Linked DNA regions of Homo sapiens: region 1 is linked to region 2. The links are contacts of gene promoters, found by promoter capture Hi-C in blood cells and fetal thymus (Javierre and others, 2016). All regions are on one chromosome and are shown on one strand. Each heading gives the region's core, a stretch centred on a gene start or on the middle of the fragment in contact. The rest is flanking DNA. Distances are from core to core; before and after follow the strand shown.

What was found. The method cuts DNA at HindIII sites, captures the fragments that hold promoters and counts their contacts. A CHiCAGO score of 5 or more calls a contact.
Region 1: a fragment that was not itself captured here is called in contact with the fragment with the promoter of AUH in region 2 in 2 of 17 cell types (neutrophils and megakaryocytes); the score reaches 6.0 in neutrophils.

The regions. Positions count from the first base shown.
Region 1 is chr9:91,402,190-91,407,831 of GRCh38, forward strand. No RefSeq gene overlaps it. Among named protein-coding and RNA genes, the nearest start is that of NFIL3, 19 kb to the right of the region's middle. The HindIII fragment of the contact is 5,682 bases long and covers 1-4,944 here.
Region 2 is chr9:91,359,533-91,365,068 of GRCh38, forward strand. It overlaps AUH (AU RNA binding methylglutaconyl-CoA hydratase), which reads right to left and starts at 2,386. Exons shown (of 10, transcript NM_001698.3): 1 at 2,096-2,386. The coding sequence starts at 2,357. RefSeq lists silencers at 2,117-2,556, 5,301-5,501. The HindIII fragment of the contact is 2,357 bases long and covers 740-3,096 here.

The sequences.
Region 1 (5,642 bases), core at 854-3,353, 42 kb after region 2:
TCTTTTTTGCTTTCTTTTTATGTCTTTTTTTTTTTTTCCTGAGACAGGGTCTTGCTGTGTCACCCAGGCTGGAGTGCAGTGGTACAATAACGGCTCACTGCAGCCTTGACCTCCTGGGCTCAAGTGATTGTCCTACTTCAGCTTCTTGACCAGCTGGGACTACAGGCACACACCACCACACTCGGCTAATTTTTAAATTTTTTGCAGAGATGGGGTTTCCCCATGTTGCCCAGGCTGGTCTCGAACTCCTGAGCTCAAGCAATCCTCCTTCCTGGCCTCCCAAAGTGATGGGATTACAGGTGTGACTACCACACCTGACTAATCCAGGTTCTTTAATTGCCAAAATGTCCTTTAGTTTCTTCCCAGTTCTGTTTCCTGAGTTTCTTTGGTAGATATATTTCTTTTTTTTTTTTTTGAGATGGAGTCTCGCCTTGTCGCCCTCGCTGGAATGCAGTGGCACAATCTTGGCTCACTGCAACCTCCGCCTCTTGGGTTCAAGTAATTCTCTGCCTCAGCCTCCCGAGTAGCTGGGATCACAAGCATGCGCCACCATGCCCAGCTAATTTTTGTACTTTTAGTAGAGACAGGGTTTCACCATCTTGGCCAGGCTGGTCTTGAACTCCTGACCTTGTGATCTGCCCGCCTTGGCCTCCCAAAGTGCTAGAATTATAGGCGTGAGCCACTGCACCCAGCCAGATAGATTTCTTTCTACCTATTCTACCTCTTGATAATGTACTCTATTGGCTCTTACTACTTTTAGCATTTTGGTCTTTCCTTTACAGGTAGATTTAAAACTCTTCACAAGGAGATAGTTTCTTTTTGTTATGTTTCCTTTACAGCATGTTGCACAGAACTGGGTATCCATTAGGCGATTCATGGTCATTGAAAATTAGCAGGTAGGGGTGTTCCCTAACCCCTGAGATCTAGATAAGATGACCTCCAGGTCTTAGTTGCATGGGTCGTCACAGTCCAAGTCTCCTTCCAGATTCTGCAGGTTCCTCGGGTCAGCCTTCATGGCCATGGCCTTGGACTCCTGCTTTCAGACAAGCTGCTCTGCAGAATGCTCACTCAGATATAAAGTCCAGCAAACAAAAACTCACAAAAAGCATTTCTGAGTCTAGTAGGACCTACTGAAAATCTAAGGAGGAAATATTCTGGACTGTTTCCATTCGGCAATGGAAACTATTTCAAATCAGACAGTGGCCTTCTGGGTCCTGTGGCTGCCCACCCACAGGGAGTCTGCATTGGCTCTTTAGCCAGGCAGGGTTCCCTCCCTTCTCTTTTCTCCTCCATCCTCTTTCTTTCAAAAGCAATCCTCCCCGCTGCCCTAAAAAAGCACAAATCACCACCATCATCTGACTCACTTTCTCTGCAAAGCAACTTACCTATGTTTGTGCCAGGCATCTACAAACATCACGGTTTTTAGCATTTCTGCTGGGATCCCAGTATCATATCAAAGTTCTTTTCTCAGAAAGAAAGTTCCCTCTCTCACTAGAAATCTGACATAGCTGTTAGAACAACTTTGTTTTTTAACCCTGTTATACTGAAATATGTTTACTTCAGGGGTTATTAATTTTGAGGTTCCTTCCTGTTCTTCATCTCCCTTTTGTTAGATTGCTATGTTATTCTTGAACAACTTCCTTTTTCTCCCTCCTTTCCTACCATGATTTCTTCCATGTACTCTTTCAAAAGTTTCTTGACCTCCAGAACTTTGGACTTTATTAAGGTTTTTTCCCCAAAGTAACCTTTTCCTTCTCAAGTGGATCAGATTGACAAAAGTGAGGTATAAAAAATGGCCGTCATACCTGTCTGGGCTACTTAGCTGAAATAGTTTACTTTAGAAGGCTCTACACAAGTACTTCTGTTTGCCTCTCTGTAGACTTATCGATACTCAGCAGACAGTAACCACTCTTTGCCGGTCTCCAGCATGACTTAGCAGTGACAGCTTCTCTCTCCCAACTTTCTAAGTAGCGCCTCTTCGTCAGGAAGTGTCGTCTATTTTCTGGTGCTCATACTACCCCGGGTCTTATTTTCACTAATTCTTGAATTAATTTTTTCCTTACATCCACTAGAATCAAAATAAGCAACCTCTGGGAATTACTGCCAAACTCTCTCTCTCTTTTTTTTCCCTCGAGATGGAGTCTTGCCCTGTCACTCAGGCTGGAGTTCAGTGGCATGATCTCAGTTCACTGCAACCTCCGCCTCCCGGGTTCAAGCAATTCTCTTGTCTCAGCCTCCCAAGTAGCTGGGATTACAGATGCGCGCACCACGCCCGGCCAATTTTTATATTTTTAGTACAGACAGGCTTTCACCATGTTGGCCAGGCTGATCTTGAACTACTGACCTCAGGTGATCCGCCTGCCTCAGCCTCCCAAAGTGCTGGGATTACAGGTGTGAGCCACCGTGCATGGCTGACTCTTTAAACCAGTTGTATTTTTTATTACCTTTCCAGAGATATCCTTGTGTACCTTTTTCTGGGAAGACTATATGGTTCATAATTCTGCATGTTCTCTTACTTCTGTATCCTCACTGGTATTTTGAGTATGCCACAATTTCACATCCTTGGCAAGATTTTTTTTTTCTTTTTTTTCTTTTTTTTTGAGATGGAGTCTCGCTCTTGTCACCCAGGCTGGAGTGCAGTGGCACAATCTCAGCTCACTGCAACCTCTGTCTTCTGGGTTCAAGTGATTCTACTCTCTCAGCCTCCTGAGTAGCTGGGAATACGGGTGCCCGCCACCACACCTGGCTAATTTTTGTATTTTTAGTAGAGACAGGGTTTCACCATGTTGGCCAGGCTGGTCTCGAACCCTTGACCTGAGGTGATCCGCCCGCCTTGTCATCCCAAAGTGCTGGGATTACAGGCGTGAGCCACCACACCCAACCACAAGTTTTTCTTATTTAAATTTTTTTGGTGCAAGTAGCTGGTGGCCCAGCACAAGACATCCCAGTGGTAATTAATACTACACTTCAACAACTCCCCATCTCTGCCCCACAGAACACAAAGCAACAAAAACCAGGTGGGTGCTGCCAATAATTTTCATTTCTGAGAAATAATTCATAGTTTTCAAAAAATGAGCTTAACAGCTACTAGTTTTTTAAAAAATGTAACATGATTTCTTTTAAGGTTTTAATTAACAACGGCTGTGTGTCAAAAAGGTGCCCATTTGTGAGGAATCTGACTTCAGGAGAGGAAACACGTGTGCATATCCATGAGCAATGGAAGACCTACGCTGATGGGGGCTGTTTTAATTTGGGAATGTTTGCTGGTTGAGGACAAAAAAGAATAAAGTTATTACACAGTTATTATATATCTATACAAGTAGATGCTTAGACAGCAGTTTTACTGATTGACAGAGCAAAGTCACTTTGGATACTCCCTTGGACTCCTTCCTTTTCTCATGCAGGTTGGAGAGACGCCTTAGTCTCATTTCCCGGGTATATCGGGGGAAGAACAAAGTGCCTGACCTGACCGCTGCTTTTCATGGCCAGCTGGGAGAGTTTCGACAAGTCAACCTCTCAGAGTCTCAGCATTCCTCTTTATAAAAATGGGCACAACAATGAAAAACCGAAAATCAAAAAAGGCCAAACAATGGGCACAAGATGGCTATGCAGCTGTGCAGCCTTCCCGCGGGGCGCATGCGCATGCGTGCACTGCACAGGGGCGCTGTGGGCTACCAGGGCGCAGGCCACCCCAACCACCCCCGCCCCCGGCCGCCGACTCTGCCCTGCGCTGCTCCCCACTGCGATTGGCCTGGCTGGTGGCTGTGGCTGCTGTGTCCTCGCCCAGCCAATGCCCCTGAGGATCACTCAGGTTCCCCACAGGGCTCTCCTGTTCAGTCACTGGGGCGGAACCCAGTGGGAGCTTTCTCGGGTTGTGACTGACCGCAGCTTCCTCTCACTATCTAGGCCTGCCGGATAGCCACCTTGCTGGGAATTCTTAAACCTTCTGGAGCTCTGAGGTTTGTGTTTCTTATTTTTGAATATAGTTATACATTTATTTGGTTTTAAACACATTTTCTCTCATTCTTGGGGGCTCTGTGAGTGGGAAGGAGAGGCGGTGGTGTTTGGTTGGTTGACATCATGAAACCAAAGTATCACGGTGTAATTTTACTTTGCGTTTCTTTGGTCTCTAGTGGGATTGGAATTGCTTGTTTATGATATTCCTTTTATTCCTAAGGAGTTACATTTTTTTTGGGGGGGGGGGGCGATAAGTAAGGTCTTGCTCTGTTGCCCAGTCTGGGGTGCAGTTGTGCCATTGCAGCTCACTACAGCCTAGAACTCCTGGGCTTGAGCGATCCTCCCTCCTCAGCCTCCTGCAGAGTTAGGACTACAGGCATGTGCCACCATACCCAGCTAATTTTGGGGAGGTTTTGGGGGTGGGGGTAGTGACAGGATCTCACTATGTTGCCCATTCTTGGCTCAAACTCCTGGACTCAAGCAATTCTCCCACCTAGGCCTCCCAAAGTGCTGGGATTATAGGCGTGAGCCACCACCCCCGGCCACGAGGGGTCACATTTAAAAATGATCCCAATGATAACTTAGATCCTTGAAATGAAAAGGCAAAAGAAGGCTAAGGAAAAGAGTTCAAATGGTGATATCTGAGTGTGCTACACACCATGAGCGCCAATATTCACAGATTACTGGGGAAGGTGCTGTTTGCTTCTTCACTGCTCTGAGAGATCAAAGTTCTTCCTAAAAAAAAACTACTCGAGATTTACCTTTCTTGCTATTATCTACTTATTCTCCCTTTCAGTAGCCCAGAGTGTAAGGTTCATCCCTTTTTGGACAATTTACCAATAGTTTTCTTAGTACTTTGTCTTTTGGAATGTCTGCTGTTGCACCTCTTATCAAGCGTGCACCCCAGGTACGGAGGACAGCCACCCGTGCTTGGAATGCTATTTGCATTGACACAACCCAACATTCCACTGTTGTTGACTCTTAGTAAGCTTGAGGGAACTAAAACTCATTTTTAAAAATGTAGTTATTTTAGGCCGGGCGTGGTGGCTCACGCCTGTAATCCCAGCACTTTGGGAGGCTGAGGCAGGCGGATCACGACGTCAGGAGATCGAGACCATCCTGGCTAACATGGTGAAACCCCATCTCTATTAAAAATACAAAAAATTAGCCGGGCGTGGTGGTGGGCGCCTGTAGTCACAGCTACTCGGGAGGCTGAGGCAGGAGAATGGTGTGAACCCAGGAGGCGGAGCTTGCAGTGAGCAGAGATGGAGCCACTGCACTCCAGCCTGGGTGACAGAGCGAGACTCCATCTCAGAAAAAAAAAAAAAATGTAGTTATTTTATTATTTTTCTCCCGGTTGTGAATTTGGATAGTTGCTTTTTTTTTTTTTTTAATGTAAGAACCTGGCTTTACATTGTATCCCTATTATATTTCGTGTTGTTAGATTCATCCTACCCATCTAGGCCGTCAAAGGCTTTTGGATCCTGACTCCCATCGGATATTTTAGCTCTCCTTCCCTGCTTTATAACTTTCACTTATAAATGAGAAGAGTCTGCCTCTGGGCTTCACCCAGCCACTAGTAAAATACTGGAGAGAGAAGGCCAAGAGCAGAGCCAGGCAGCACATTTCCCTAAGAGCCAGGAGATTTCAGAGAGGAAAGTGACCCCTGTGGCAAAAAGGACAAA
Region 2 (5,536 bases), core at 1,136-3,635:
CTCACTGCAGCCTCAAAGTCCTGGGCAGTCTCCATCTCAAAAGAAAAAAAAAGAAAAGAAAAGGAAATTTGGTTATAGAGCTATGCCTCCTACAACAAATTACAAATATGGAGCCCAGATAACAGATGAGACCTGGTGTATTCTGCACTACTTACCCCCACCCACCTAAAGTGCTGCATGCTGTTTGAGGCTCCTGTGACTAGGAGAGTTATCCTATTCCTTAGAGGCTGCTGAGAGCACCAAATTTTGGACCCACCTCTAAGAGAAATAAAGGCACCCAGGAAACTCCTTCACCTGTAGTACCCTTGACCTCATGTTTTTCTTTGCACTGCTTATTGCTGGTTCAACAGTAAAGCAAAGCAAAGCCTAGGTAATGTTAGCCAAGCCTGAGTCGTCATTCTTGCCAATTCTCAAAGGAGGCGGGGTCAACTTTAAGAAACCATGATGTATGTCCTATCTCATCAGGAAATCAAGGCTAAAGAAAAAAAAAAAAAGAAACCATGATACCCAAAAAAATTTTCGTTTATTATCTTTTATTATCTGATATTCTCTCTTCTGTCCATTCAGATCCTAACTTAAAGTCTGTCCAGACATTCTGCACAAATATTCCTTTAATTGCATTCAAGTCATAACGACCAAAAAAATAGAATATGGTGCATATTAGTAGCTGTACTTGCAATCCCTTTATATCTAACATATTGTTGGTACACTTAACGGAAGTGAAGTCCCGGCATGACTAAGCTTACCCAAAAGATGATGGCATTCAGGCTCTAATCACTCCAGTGCTAGTCTATGCTTCCAGCTGAATTTCTTACTATTCTGCTTATGCCACACTTGCCTTATGTTACGTCCCAAATACACCACACATGTTCACATCTCCATGCCTTTGACCATGTTCTTGTCTCTGTCTGGAATAATAAGTAAGGAATAAAGTCATTCATCACACTCCTGAAGCACTGCTACGTGCTAGTGGCAATTTACATTAACAATCTCATCTCATCTTCATAACAAACCTATAAAGTTGGTATTGTTTTTCCTGTTTTACACGTGAGATAAGTCTGCCCAAGAACCCTCACAAATGGCAAAATCCACTGCCTATTAAAGAATGCCTTGGAACCCCTTTCAAATGGCGAAACCCTGCAGGTATTACAGCCCTTTCCTCTTACCATGCCTTGAAAGTTCACACAGCCTACTAATAACCAGGATCTGCTTCACTACACTAAAACCAATCACGACTTACACGCTTTTCACTTCTGCTTAACAGATTATAGGTGCTCAACAAATGCATGTCAAAATTAAAACACTGGTCCTCTGGCTTAACCCGGAGGTTAAGGGTGGAAACTGCTATTCCACCCTTCACGACCCTTTTAGCTTTTCCCTGCACTGCCAGTGAAAGGAACTGAGCTGTAACAGTATTCCCTAGGATTGTCAGCCTCCTTCAAAGCCTTCAAAGCTCTGTATTGTATTGCTAATGATGTCTCCTCCCGTAGAAGGTAGCTCAAGGGCAAGATCCATACCATCCACATTCTTATCGCCAGAGCTGAGGAAAATAAAAAGTGCTCAAAATTGTTTAAATGAAGTGGAACAGTCCCTCAAGACTAACTTTCTAAGAGAAAATGAACAAGAGGAAAAATTGTTCCAGCTGAGCAGCTTCAAATTTAAGATTCTCCGTAATAATAAAAGGCAGTTTCACCGCAGCTTTTACAACTCCACCACTAATAGCTGAGTTTACAGAAAGCCATTACACAGCAACAATAAAGCCTGGTAGCAAGGATTAAATCCCCAGGGTATATATTGACCTTGGCTTGTCTGGAGCGGAGGGCGTAAGCTGCACTTCTGTTTGCCGCGCTGAATGCGGTCACTTTACAGGTAAGCTGCTCGGGGGTACACGTTTAGGTTATTAAAAGCAAGAAATAGGTGCACAAGGAAGCGGCCACGCTGGGTGAGTAGGGAGGTGAGAAAGGGGAGGGACCCAGGTTCGGTGCGCCTGCCTGACCTCGACCCCGCGTCCTGCCGGCGGACGCTGCACCTTATGCCCGTCCTGAGAGCGAGCGGCCGCCCGCTGCCCCGCGCCTGCCCAGCGTTCGCACCTCACCTCGGTTCTCCTCCTCCAGGTGCCGCACCCGCAGCTCGTCCTCCGTCTTCATCTCAGAGCTGTAGCCCCTTTTCGGGGCGGGACCCCCGGCCGCAGGTACCCAGCCCTGGGCCCAGATCGCCGGGCCCGCTCGCCGGCCTGCCAACGAGCCGGGCAGCCTCAACCCCGGGCAGAGCCACGCACTGCAAGCGGCCACCAGGCGGGCGCCGCCAGCATGCAGGGATCCCAAGGCCCCAGGTGCCGCCGCCACCGCGGCCGCCATGTTGTCTGTTTACGGCGTGGACCTGCGACGGCCGCTCCGCCCCCGCCCGGCGCCGACCTGCCGCGCGCACGCGCACGGCGTCCGGACCCGCCGCCTCGCTCCGGCTTGGCCCCGCCCTCCGGAGCCGTGTTCCCGCCCCTCACTGCCCCGCCGAAGCCCGGTGACCCGAGGCCTTGCCCCATTCTCCAAGCGAGATTGGATGGTTTGTCCAATACAAAAGGAAAGAAAGTAGTTTTCCAAGGTTATGGAATAATTCAGGGAAGACTTTTCTATAAGAACCACCCGGAGGGAATTATCTCCCCGTACTCCCTGGACCATGCCCTGCGGTCCTGTGTTAAGTAAGCTGCAAAAGTGAACAAAAAAGTTTTGTCTCCTCAAGTTGGCTGAAAGTGTGGCAGCCCATCGTTGGTCACTGCCTTACTTATGGATCTCAGGTTGTTGGTTTAGCGTCCCTGATAAGCATAAATGATGTTTACTACGTGGCGTTCAGGAAAAGGATGAGAACAGCAAACAGGCAAAGGAGTTCTTTCTCCAGCCCACCCACTCGTACCGATGTCCCATGGCCCTTCCTGGACGGAAAGAGTCTTACAGGGGTTCAAACAAGCCATACGCTGAGATGGGATTTAGAGTATGTAGCTCTTCCAGAAACTCGGGATATCAATTTAGTGTGTAGGTACTCATCAAAGCACGTTGCAGTATAATTAATGCTACCTAGCTTTTATCAGATCTCTAATGGGAAAGCTTGCATTTAAGAATACTGGGCAGGGGGCGGTGGCTCACGCCTGTAATCCAAGCACTTTGGGAGGCCGAGGCAGGTGGATCACCTGAGGTCAGGAGTTTGAGACCAGCCGGGCCAACGTGGTGAAACCCTGTCTCTACTAAAAATACAAAATTAGCCAGGTGTGGCGGCACACGCCTGTAATCCCAGCTACTCGGGAGGCTGAGACAGGAGAATTGCTTGAACCCGGGAGGCGGAGGTTGCCCTGAGCTGAGACTGCACCATTGCACTCCAGTCCAGGCAACAAGAGTGAAACTCTGTCTCAAAAAAAAAAAAAAAAAAAAAAAAGAATACTGTTTGAAAAGTGTGCTGCTATGAGCATACGTCTAGTGCCACAGAAATTTCTTGTATTTTTTAGTCCTAAGCAAAACATCCTTCATTATGTCCTCAACTTTTATCCAATGTAGAAACAAAAAGTAGACTGAATTCCATTACTGCATCTGCTGTAAAATGATGTTGAAGGCACTTTTATTTTTATTTTTATTTTTTATTTTTTGACAGGTTCTGGCTCTGTCGGCCAGGCTGGAGTGCAGTGGTGTGATCGCCTCTCGCTGCAACCTCTGCATCTCAGGCTCAAATGATCCTCCCACCTCAGCCTCCTGAGTAGCTGGGATCACAGGCACACACCACCACACCTGGGTAATTTTTGTATTTTTAGTAGAGATGGGTGTTTCTATGTTGGCCAGGCTGGTCTTGAACACCTGACATCAAGTGATCCACCCAACTTGACCTCCCAGAATGCTGGGATTACAGGTGTGAGCCACCATGCACAGCCCACTTTTTATTCTATCTTTTGTAAAGTTCCATGCAGGAAAATTTTCCTGAAGTTTACTACAAGGAAAACTTTGCTTCCTTTGTATCTTTCCTCTTTTCTGATAATGATGTACATGTTGACTGCTGGGTGTTGTGATTTTTATTGTTATGGTTTCTTTCTAATTTGGTCTTGTGGTCACCAGAGGGAGGGTAAATCTGGAGGTGACAGGGAGTTCAGCCAGTGGAAGGGGGTCAAGGAAGGGGCACTTGTGGAGCTAAAGCCTCTGTTGGGGTCCAGCGTGTTACCCAAGCAGTTTCCCATGGAAGTTCTAATTGGTGAGTTTAGAACAAGCAGGCACAAGTTCCATGGAGTCACCCTGTCACTGTGAGGTGGTCACTGGAGCCCATCTACACAGTCCATGTGGGTTATGGAGGTCAACAGGTGAGTCAAGCAGGCTGCATTTACCTGTCCCATAGGGAGATGGTCACCAGGAAGCAGTTGCATTAAGCAGATATCTGGATGGATCACATTGAAGAACTGGGAGGAAGCAGAGAACTGGAAACTGTATCAAAGGTGATTGAGCCCTGCTTCTCATATGAGAAAGTTAAACATATTCAAAATGGATACCAAGGCAAAATAAAATTATGAGAATTACTGTACTAGAGATGGCAGCGGCTGCTCCAGACGGCCTACTGCTGCAGCAGGGAGGCATGGCCAGGGCTGCACGCTCTCTGGCGGGAGCCAGGGACAAGCGGGAGACCCACCCCTTCTGAGTTGGGGTGGGAACTCCCTGGTTGCCTCTGCAGCACAGCTGCAGACTGGGGCCTCCTGCTCCACAGAGCAGGCAGAAGCACCACCCAAGGTGTGGCTGCAGATCTGAGCCTCCCTGTGCTCTTAGGGGGCCAGGAGCAGGCAGGAGCCCTGCCCTCCCCGAGGGCAGCTGTAGCCACCCAAACCACGGCTGCAGCCCCAGGCATCCCTGCACTCTTGGGGGCCCAGGAAGGCCCTGCATGCCCTCACAGGCTCAGAAATGCCTGCTCCTGCTGCCTGGCTTCTCCCTGCTGTTGGCACCTGCTCCATTCTTGGAGCAAAGTTGAGGCTGAACCCAGGCACCATGAATGGCAGTGGGAGGCAGACAGACTCCTGGGCAGAAGGGGGTGGGTCCCCAGTGAGGCCCCAGCTTCTGGCCAAGGAGGGCCTGAAGGCTGGGGGTTGGGCTGCCAGCCCCATGAACCAGAGTGGGAACTTGTGGTGCCTTTTCCGAGCCTGCCCATGGCTGCCCATGGACCAATCAGCGGCAGGCACTTGCTCCCCTCTGAGGCCCATAAAATCCCCAACTCAGCCAGAGCTGAGCAGATGATGGGACAACCAGCTGCAGAGAGGAGCTACCCTCTCAGCTGAGAGCTTCAGAGACTTGCAGAGATGTCAGAACTACCAGCTTCAGAGAGGAGTGACCCTCTCCAGGGCCTCCTCTCTGCTAGGAGCTGGGCAGATGTTAGGACAACCAGCTGCAGAGAGGAGCTACCCTCTCCAGGGCCTCCTCTCTCCTAGGAGCTGGGCAGACTTCAGGACACCCTGCCTACAGAGAGGAGCTACCCACTGCGGGTCTCCTCCGAGCTGTTTTAATGCTCAATAAAGCTTCTCTTT